2 separate regions of the Homo sapiens genome follow, and region 1 is linked to region 2. The links are contacts of gene promoters, found by promoter capture Hi-C in blood cells and fetal thymus (Javierre and others, 2016). All regions are on one chromosome and are shown on one strand. The core of a region is centred on a gene start or on the middle of the fragment in contact, and the rest is flanking DNA. Distances in the headings are between cores, read along the strand shown. Region 1 holds the start of CFAP410 (cilia and flagella associated protein 410). Region 2 holds the start of PCBP3 (poly(rC) binding protein 3).

Region 1 (4,625 bases), core at 191-2,690, 1.3 Mb before region 2:
TCATGGTCCCTGAGTAGCAGAAGGTTCATTTCTCTCACTGACAGACATAAACAAGGGCGTCTTTATAAGAGGTCAAGTTCAAAGGGTGAACAGGCAACTTATGAAGCAAACTTTAAAAGCCTGAAACAGGGTTGTTGTTTCTCCCAGCTTAGTGGGAGTACTGACCACCCCATGCAAAACAAAGAAATGCATTATTGAAAGCAAATGACACGGGAATTGTAGCCAAAACACCAGATATGCCAGGGCAGAGAGAAAAGCTTTTTAATTAACAGGGAAGAGCTCACTCTGGGCAGTCTGCGGACACCCCTGGGAGGAAGCGTCTGCTCTCGCTGACCCCCACACCCGCCTGCACGGTGAGGCCAGTTGACACGGCGCGGTCACTCTGCTGAGTCCCCAGGGAACCCTGGAGATCTTGCAGGCCTCAACTCCAGGCTCCCTCTTCTGGAAGCTCCTGGTCTTCCTTGGCTCAGTGAGACTCAGCATTACCTGCCTTTCAGCCTGCCTGGGTCCCACCGCACCCACGTCCCTTCCTGTCACCTGCTAGGAGTACCCTGGGAACGGCCGCCCCCAGTACTGATTACCAACGTGTTTCCTGACTCAGTCCTGGAAAGCTCAGTTCTCTCTCCTATTCGACTTGGTCCCAGTGACTGCTGGCAACCCCAGACAACAGACCCAGCCCACAGGGCACCCGGGGCAAAGGCGGGCCGGGAAATGGGGGGGGGCCCAGGCGACCCCGACCCCCGGCCTCCTCCCCTCCCTCACCCGCGGCTCCTTCGCCGCCCTCGCCCCTGCCCCTCCCCCCTTCCACTCCGCCCCCGCCCCGCCCCGCCCCGGCTCCTCCCTCCGGCTCCGCCCTCGTCCCGCCCCGGCTCCTCCCTCCGGCTCCGCCCTCGTCCCGCCCCGGCTCCTCCCTCCGGCTCCGCCCTCGTCCCGCCCCGGCTCCTCCCTCCGGCTCCGCCCTCTCCCCGCCCCGGCTCCGCCCTCTCCCCGCCCCGGCTCCGCCCTCTCCCCGCCCCGGCTCCTCCCTCCGGCTCCGCCCTCGTCCCGCCCCGGCTCCTCCCTCCGGCTCCGCCCTCTCCCCGCCCCGGCTCCTCCCTCCGGCTCCGCCCTCGCCCCGCCCCGGCTCCTCCCCCCACCCCGGGGCGGCCGCGGCCAGGCCCCGCCTCACCAGCAGTTGAGCTTGCGCACGCTGTGCAGCTCCGAGGCCTTGGCCCGGGTCAGAACCATCTTCCGCGTCAGCTTCATGGCGGCCGCCCAGGCCCGACCGGCGGGCGCCCCCGGCCTCCTGATCCCGGGCGGGTGACGACTGCGCGGCGCGTGTCTCCAGGGGCGGGGCCCGCGTCGTCAGGGGCGGATCCTGAGCCGATTGGCGGCTCGGTGAGGAGAGCGGGGCGACGCGAGCCCGCTGGGGCCGCTTGGGCGCCGCTGACACGTTGGCTCTGCTCCTGCTCATGCGCGGCCTGGGGCGCCCTTCTCTGACGCGATTCTAACGCGACCCCGGAAGCGCGCAGCGAGCAGAGGGTGGGTGCAGGTGGCGGTCCCCGAGTCGGCCCAGTGAGGGCTGAACTGCTGCTCCCAGGAACCGAGCGGGGTGGGCTCGGTCCGACGCGCATCATGGCCGAGTGCCTAGGCCTGACTCTGAGCGCAGGCCTAGCGTGGATGGCATGGGCGCTACACAGCTCCAAGTTACGCGATTCAAACTCTTGGAATAAACCCAGGGCAGCCCTGGGGCTGTGTTGATTCCTTGTCTCCCTCCCTCCCAGCATTTACAGAAAAGACGCATTTATAGGAAAGACGCACGGGCAGGTCCAGCAGAGCCCTTACAAGCATTTCAACCTTTTAGAAATCAGATAAGACCCTCTAAACATCGTTACATGGGCCACAGTTACATTAAGACAGGCGTTCTGACGTTCTGAAACCGCCTTTGCAAAAAATTGTATCGGTGAGAGAAGGTTGGCCTTGAAGGAGATCTGGCCAACCCCCATCTTGCCTTTGGCCTTAAAACTGCCCTTAATTATTCCTGGATAAGCAAAGGTAACTTTGGGAGACATTTATAGTTTAAGTGATAGCAGCCCTTCCTCAAAACTAAACAGCCTTTGTAAAGCTAATGAGACCACTGAAACCGCCTTTGCAAAAATCATAACTGAAGAAATTATGACAGGGGAAGATCTCCTCACCCACCCCATCTTCCTGCTATCCTCTAAGCTGCTTTTGTTCATTCCTGGGTGTAGACCAGACTAGCCTTGGGAAGGAATTTAGTTTATAGATTAAACTGAAACAAAATTGATAATAGCCCTTTCCCAAAAAAACCCTTCTTGCCTGGGGACCAGTCTGCCTTTGTAGGACTAACAAATTAAGCTACGAGATTAAAAATTACAGTTTAGGGGCCATGCAACCTCTGGCGGCAAGAGTCTGAACCTCCCCAAATTGCTTCTGGGAATAACATCACTGTTGCAAAACTTAAGGTCAGTGCTTGAAATATTTTGTAGACCCTGCATTCAGATGCAGCAGATGACACCACCCAAACGGATAATCTGGCTCAACCATGTGTGTGATCCCACCCAGGGACAGAAGTCAGCCAGAACTCATTTTGACCCCCTATGATTTAATCTTCGACCTGACCAATCAGCACTCACCACTTTCTGAGCCCATACCCGCCAAATTATCCTTAAAAACACGGATCCCCGAATGCTTGGGGAGACTGATTTGAGTGATAATAAAACTCTGCTCTCCTGCACAGCCAGCTCTGTGTGTATTACTCTTTCTCCATTGCAATTCCGTTGCCTTGATAAATCGGTTCTGTCTAGGCAGTGGGCAAGGCGAACCCATTGGGCGGTTACACTACCAGCCTAGAAGGATAGAGGAGCATGAATTCCACTAAGATGCAGATGTAAACATTCGTCAGCCATTATTCTGGAGGTCACAAGATAAGCTACTTCCCCAATTACTCCTGCAGGTAACATCACTATTGTACCTTTGCAGGTTTCTTGCATGTCTCACACGGATGGATCCAGCTAAATGTCTTGCCAACAGCTCCTGTGGCCCCACCCAGAAGCCATGCAGCACAAAAGGACCAAAAGGACAGCTAGATTTCATCTCGCACCTAACCAATCAGCACTCCCCATGCCCTAGCCCCCTGTTCACCAAACTACCTTTGAACAACCCCTAACCCATGAGCCTTCAATTGTAACCGAGCAGCTTAGCAGCTGTGAATCCAAAATATCTGAGACAGGACTCAATCTGTTTAGAAAGTTTATTTTGTCAAGGTTAAGGACAAGCCCATGACACAGCCTCAGGAGGTCCTGATGACATGTGCCCTGGGTGGCTGGGGCACAGCTTGCTTTCATACATTTTTAGGGAGACATGAGACATCAATCAATATGTGTAAGATGGAAAAAGAAGAAAAAATATATGTATAAGATGTACATTAAGCCGGGCGCGGTGGCTCACGCCTATAATCCCAGTACTTTGGGAGGCTGAGGCAGGTGGATGGCCTGAGGTCAGGAGTTCGAGACCAGCCTGGCCAACATAGTGAAACCCTGTCTCTACTAAAAATACAAAAAATTAGCTGGGCGCGGTGGTGGGTTTCACTCGTGTCCATGTGAAGAGACCACCAAACAGGCTTTGTGTGAGCAATCAAGCTGTTTATTTCACCTGGGTGCAGGTGGGCTGAGTCTGAAAAGAGAGTCAGTGAAGGGAGATAAGGGTGGGGCCGTTTTATAGGATTTGGGTAGATAAAGGAAAATTATAGTCAAAGGGGGGTTGTTCTCTGGCGGGCAGAGTGGGAGTCACAAGGTGCTCAGTAGGGGAGCTTTTGAGCCAGGATGAGCCAGGAGAAGGAATTTCACAAGACAATGTTATCAGTTAAGGCAGGAACAGGCCATTTTCACTTCTTTTATGGTGGAATGTCATCAGTTAAGGCGAGAACCAGCCATCTGGATGTGTACGTGCAGGTCACAGGGGACATGGTGGCTTAGCTTGGGCTCAGAGGCCTGACAGTGGGCGCCTGTAATCCCAACTACTTTGGAGGCTGAGGCAGGAGAATCGCTTGAACCCGGGAGGCAGAGGTTGCAGTGAGCCGAGACTGTGCCATTGCACTCCAGTCTGCGCAACAAGAGCGAGACTCCGTCTTAAAAAAAAAAAAAAGATGTACATTAGTTCAGTCTGGAAAGGCAGGACACCTTGAAGGCCGGGTGGGGTTGTGGGGGTGGAGGGAGGCTTCCAGCTTCCAGGTCATCGGTGGATAAGAGACAAAAGATTGCATTCTTTTGAGTCCTTTCACTGAATACACAATTTGGTCTAGCTTAGTAAATCTGCATTTTTACATAAACAATAAGGCAGAGAAAGCAAACAGATAGGCATGTGTCTCCGGTGAGCAGGGGGATGACCTCCTGTCCCACACCTGTGAAGATCAGCTATCAGTTTACATTCCAGGGTGAAATTCAACAGAACTGTTTGAGGGTAAAGATCTTGAGGCCCACAAGGAATTTCCTTGTGGGCAAATTGTGAGGGAGCTTCATAGCTTTTTATCTTTGTAGCGATCTTATTTAGGAATAAAATTGGAGGCAGGTTTGCCTGATGCATTTTCCAGCTGACTTTTCCCTTGACTTAGTGATTTTAAGGTC
Region 2 (4,557 bases), core at 1,879-4,378:
AACATGTGTGCTGGGGTTGTAGGCTGAGGTAAGGGTATGAATTCTGCCTGAGGAAAGGCTCAGCCTGGAGTGTAGTCCTGCTGAAGGCCAGAGACCACACACTCCACCCAGACTCCGGATCTCCCTCCCCAGCAGGGGGATGGAGGCCCTGCCGCTGGGAGTGCTGGTGTTATGTGGAAGGGCTGGGCTTCTCCAGGGCTCCTGGGAGGCCTAAACATCTTGCAAGGTTTTGACGTTAATTACTATTATGATTGCTTTCTGTGTGTTACTGTTTTCCCCACACTTTAGCCAGCTAATGTGGAGCTACAGAAGGCCCTCGCCCCTACCCCTCCAGATGTCCCAGCCCATGACAAGCAGGAAGGCCGGGTGCTGGGAGACTTCCTGGGGCTGGATCTGACATCATTCCAAGCAGATGATAACCTGCCTTCCCGATTTCCAAACCCACAGCAAGACACCCTGGAGTTATTTATAAATGCGAGCCCCTGGGTGCACTTCTGACGGGACCAGCACCCTGACGGCCATGAGAGGGTGGAGACAGCGCACCCCGAGCTCAGGGAGGCAGGAAACTCTGGACCTGGAGGCCGGGCACCATGAGGGACACGCTGCAGGCCCAGCTGCTGCCGCCTGGGGCGGGGCTGCCCTGCAGGCTCCGGGAAAACCCAGAACCAGGCCGGATCAGCGTGTGTCAAGAGGCGGGGCGTGAGAGATGAGCTGCTTTTTTTCTTCACAGGGTTGGCAGGAACTGCAAATAATAGAAAGTCTTTAGGGTCTAACACGCTGCCCTGAAAACACTATCATTACTTTCCTAATGACTAACTGTGTCTTTCAGCCGGCGGGGCAGGCAGCTGAGGCCGCAGGCTCCCGCAGAGGACCGGGGGAGGCTGGCAGCCTGTAATCTGGGGGCGCTGACAGTGCTCTGCCCAGACCCTCGCGCCAGCTCCAGCTCCAGCACAGCAGCCCTGGGTCCCTCTGGCCCCCTGCCCGCAGAGTCCAGGTGTGGCAGAGGCCGCCCAGTATCCCTTCTCCTCCTCCTTTTCTAAAAACAGAGTCTCACGATGTTTCCCATGCGGGTCTCCAACGCCTGGGCTCAAGCGATCCTTCTGCCTCGGCCTCCCAAAGCGTTGGGATTAAGGGGCGAGCCACCGCGCCCGGCCCACCTTCCCTTCTGGTTCATTTCCAGTAAGGTCCTGTCCACAGCGTCCTTCCCAGCATTCCCACCAGGCTGCAGGCCTTGGCCTCCCTCCCCTCCATTCTCATTCTCCCCGAAACCGCCAAGCGCGTCCAAAGCACGGGTTCGCCAAGCGCCCCCCCCGCCCCACTCCACATTCCCTTCCCCGCCGACTCAGCCTCCGTAGCTCGCGGACGGCCCCTCCTCACGCCAGCCCAGGCTTTTTTTTTTTTTTTTTCTTCTATTTTAAGGTTGTCTTTTAATGACACAAGCGACATTTGGAGACAAAAGGACACATCTCTTCCTGACCCACCTCCAACCCCAGCTGACGGCCGCCCTGAGCCTGGCGTAGACGGCCCGGAACGTTCCCTGCGTGGGTTCCGTCCATCCCGAACCCCTGTCCCCGCGCCGGCTCCGGGGGTGCTCGGGGGGCCGCGTGGGGTCTGTGACGTCGCCTCGAGGCTGCATCCCGGTGACCCGGCAGCCCCTGGCGCTCGCGGGAGGCGGGCGGGCGCGGACCCCAGGCTTTAGGGCGCGATTCCTGCAGCTGGCTGCCGGCCCGAGGTTCTGGGGTGTCTGAGGTCTCGGGCGGGGCGAGGACGTTTCTCCGGCTCAGCCCCCCCACCTCCTGCCCTGCCGCCCCCCACACCCAGCTCCCCACGGACGCCAAGAGGCGCCTCCCACCCCGGCGAGGACCCGCGGGGAAACGGGGCCCAGGCGCGGCGACTGCGGAGGACGCGCCTCGGCCCCAGCGCCCTGGTCCTCGGGGCGTCCGGCTGCCCTTGCCCGAGGCCGGGGCGGGCGCTCAGCGCCGCGGAAGAAACGCCCGGGCGGGGACGCACAGCGAGGCGGGCTCCGCGGGAAGTACCGGGAAAACGGCGCGGAGCGGAACAGCCCGGAGCCAGCCCAGAGAAAGGGCGGCCTCCCCCTGCAGCCCCCGGGGCCCAGCAACGCCCCGCCCCAGGCCACGGCACGCGAACGCCGGGCGGGCGGAGGGGACAGGGCGGCGGGACCAGCGCGGGGCGGGCAGCGTCTGGGCACAGGCTCACGAGCCGCTCGGGGCCCCTGCCCGCCGGGCGCTGCGGCCCCAGCCTCCGGGCCGGGGCCAGGCCCACAGAGAACGGGAAGCGGGCGCTGCAGGGGGACCTTCGGGGTTGCGGCACGGCTGGGAATTCAACGGCCATTCCCGTCCCGTCGGGCCCACCCGCCCGCCCGCCAAATCCCCGCCCACCGCGGATCCGCCCCGTCCACCAAGGTCTCGCTCACCAACGGCCCGCCCCGCCCACCACAGGCCTGGCCCGCCCACGAAGGCTCGCCCCGCCCATCCACGGCCCTGCCCACCACAGGCCCGCCCCAAGCCTGGGCCCCGCCCCAGCAAGGGCACTAATCCCCTAACCCCCGAGCCCCGCCCACTGCTCTTGCCCTTCTCCCGCCCGCCCCGACTTAGGCCTCTCCCCGGCCTGGCCTCCCGTACTCAGCCCCGCCCCTGCCCCGCCCCCACCCCACCCCAAATGTGACCTGCCCCTCCCACTGCCCGTCCCCTCCCCGCTTCACTTCATTAGGCCCCCGCCCCGATTCTTGCCCCGCCCGCTCAATGTCCCGCCTACGACCCCGCCCACTACTAGTGACCGGCCCGCCCGTTCGAGGCCCCGCCTCCTCCCCGCCCAATGCTCGGCCCCGCCCCGCGCGTCATTGGGCCAGGTCCCCGCCCCGCCCCCAGCCCCACCCCCGCCCCTTTGACTGGAGTTGGCTTTTTCCAGAGAACTTTCCGGGCTCGGATTGGCCGCGCCGGTTGATGTTCCGCCCTTTCATTGGCCCGCGGCGCCCGCTTTCGCGAGCCTGCCCTTGGGCGGGGGCGGGGCCGGCGGCGGCGCGCGGCGCTAGATTGGTTAGCGGCGCAGAGGGGCGGGCCCGCGCCGCGCGCAGCGCTCGGGCTGGAGCGCCTGAAGCCGCGACCGCCGCCTCAGCCGCCTCAGCCGCGGTCGCCGCCGCTTCGGCTGACTTAGGCTCCGCCGCCGCCTCCTCACCCGCCTCGCCCCGACCCCGCCCGGGCCTCCCGGCCTCTCCCCGCCGGCCCGCGGGCTCGCCGTCCGGCGCAGGGCAGGTGAGTGAGCGGTGGCGGGCGGGGTCGGGGTCGGGCGCCCTTGCGGGTTACGGGGACCCAGTCCCCGACGGAGGCCGAGTGACGGGGCGACCCCGGGCCGCGGCAAACTTCGCCCGAGCCGGGGCGGGCGGGGGTCCCGGGCTGGGTCGCGCCGTCCCCGACCGCCGCCGGCGCCTGCGGCGGCCCGGGGCAGCGAGGGGACTCGCGCTCCCTCAAGGTGCGGTCGCCAGGCCTGGCCCGCCCGCCTCCGCCCCCTCCCCAAATTCGGAAGTTGCGGCGGGAAGCCGAGAACGTCTCGGATGTGGGTCAGAAAACGTCTGGACTACTTGAGGCTTCAGTTTCAAAACGGCACAAATTTCATCTCTTGATTGAGAAGAGATCTGGGGAACACCCCGGAGCGGCCGCGGCGGCTGGAGGGCGGCGGGGCGGGGCGCGGGGCCTCCTCCCCCTGGACGGCCGCCGGGAGAGCGCGGCCTCACCCCTCGGTGACCCTGCGGAGAGCCGCGCGCGGGCGGTGGGGCGCGCGCAGGTCTCTCTTGTTGCTCGCTGTGTTTTATTTTAATTTTGGGGGTGGTTAGAACGTGTTTCTTATTGTCCCCACACGTGTTCTAATTGGAAGTCTTGTTTCGTGAAAGAGTTTTTTTCTTTTTTTTGCCTGGTGATGTTTTCCAATTCCCTCCGCGCCACTCTGAAGTATATTACTGGCATAAGAAATTTGAAAGTTAACCAAAAGTCGGGTCCTAAATCTCGTGGCTCGGGGTTGGTTATCTTCCACCGTCCTTCAGAGCAGCCTGGATTTGCAGGTCTTGTTAGCCCTCCATGTGAGCCAGTAGCACTCTTAGTTGTTGAGTGTTTGTAGAGTGGGATTCGCCAGAAGGAATCTTGAGCAGCAGGGCCTTGCGGAGAGGCCTTTAGAGATTAGACTGGGCAACTTATAGACTCCCCCCATTTCAAAAATATTCCTCTGGCACAGGCCCTCACATATCCCTCTGAAATTGAACTCACTTTCAGGGGCAAACTGTTGCCCTTTTTCTTTTCTTTGGACTTTCTCAGATGTGGATCCCAAAGGAGTGTGCAAGGGTGCTTCCCTATTTAAGAGAACTAACTCCCAGTCCTCCTCATATTCAAGAATAATTCATCATCTTAAAGCGTGTCAGAGATACCTATTTTGGCCCCAAAAGGAGTGTTTGTAGAACAGTGGCACTCTAAAGGGATCATTTGCAAGATCTGAAAGGACCTAATTGATCATCACACGACAGAAGCAGAAATAGTTCTGGTGTTTTCA

What was found. Contacts are between HindIII fragments. The CHiCAGO score rates a contact against its expected background, and 5 or more counts as called.
Region 1: the fragment with the promoter of CFAP410 here is called in contact with the fragment with the promoter of PCBP3 in region 2 in 1 of 17 cell types (erythroblasts); the score reaches 7.1 in erythroblasts.

What each region holds. Positions count from the first base shown.
Region 1 is chr21:44,337,950-44,342,574 of GRCh38, forward strand. It overlaps CFAP410 (cilia and flagella associated protein 410), which reads right to left and starts at 1,441. Exons shown (of 7, transcript NM_004928.3): 1 at 1,169-1,441. The coding sequence starts at 1,245. RefSeq lists silencers at 610-729, 1,030-1,399 and enhancers at 1,400-1,619, 3,482-4,124, 4,125-4,625. The HindIII fragment of the contact is 4,638 bases long and covers 256-4,625 here.
Region 2 is chr21:45,640,597-45,645,153 of GRCh38, forward strand. PCBP3 (poly(rC) binding protein 3) reads left to right here and starts at 3,129. Exons shown (of 18, transcript NM_001384156.1): 1 at 3,129-3,272. RefSeq lists silencers at 2,334-3,323, 3,644-3,783. The HindIII fragment of the contact is 8,393 bases long and covers 1-4,557 here.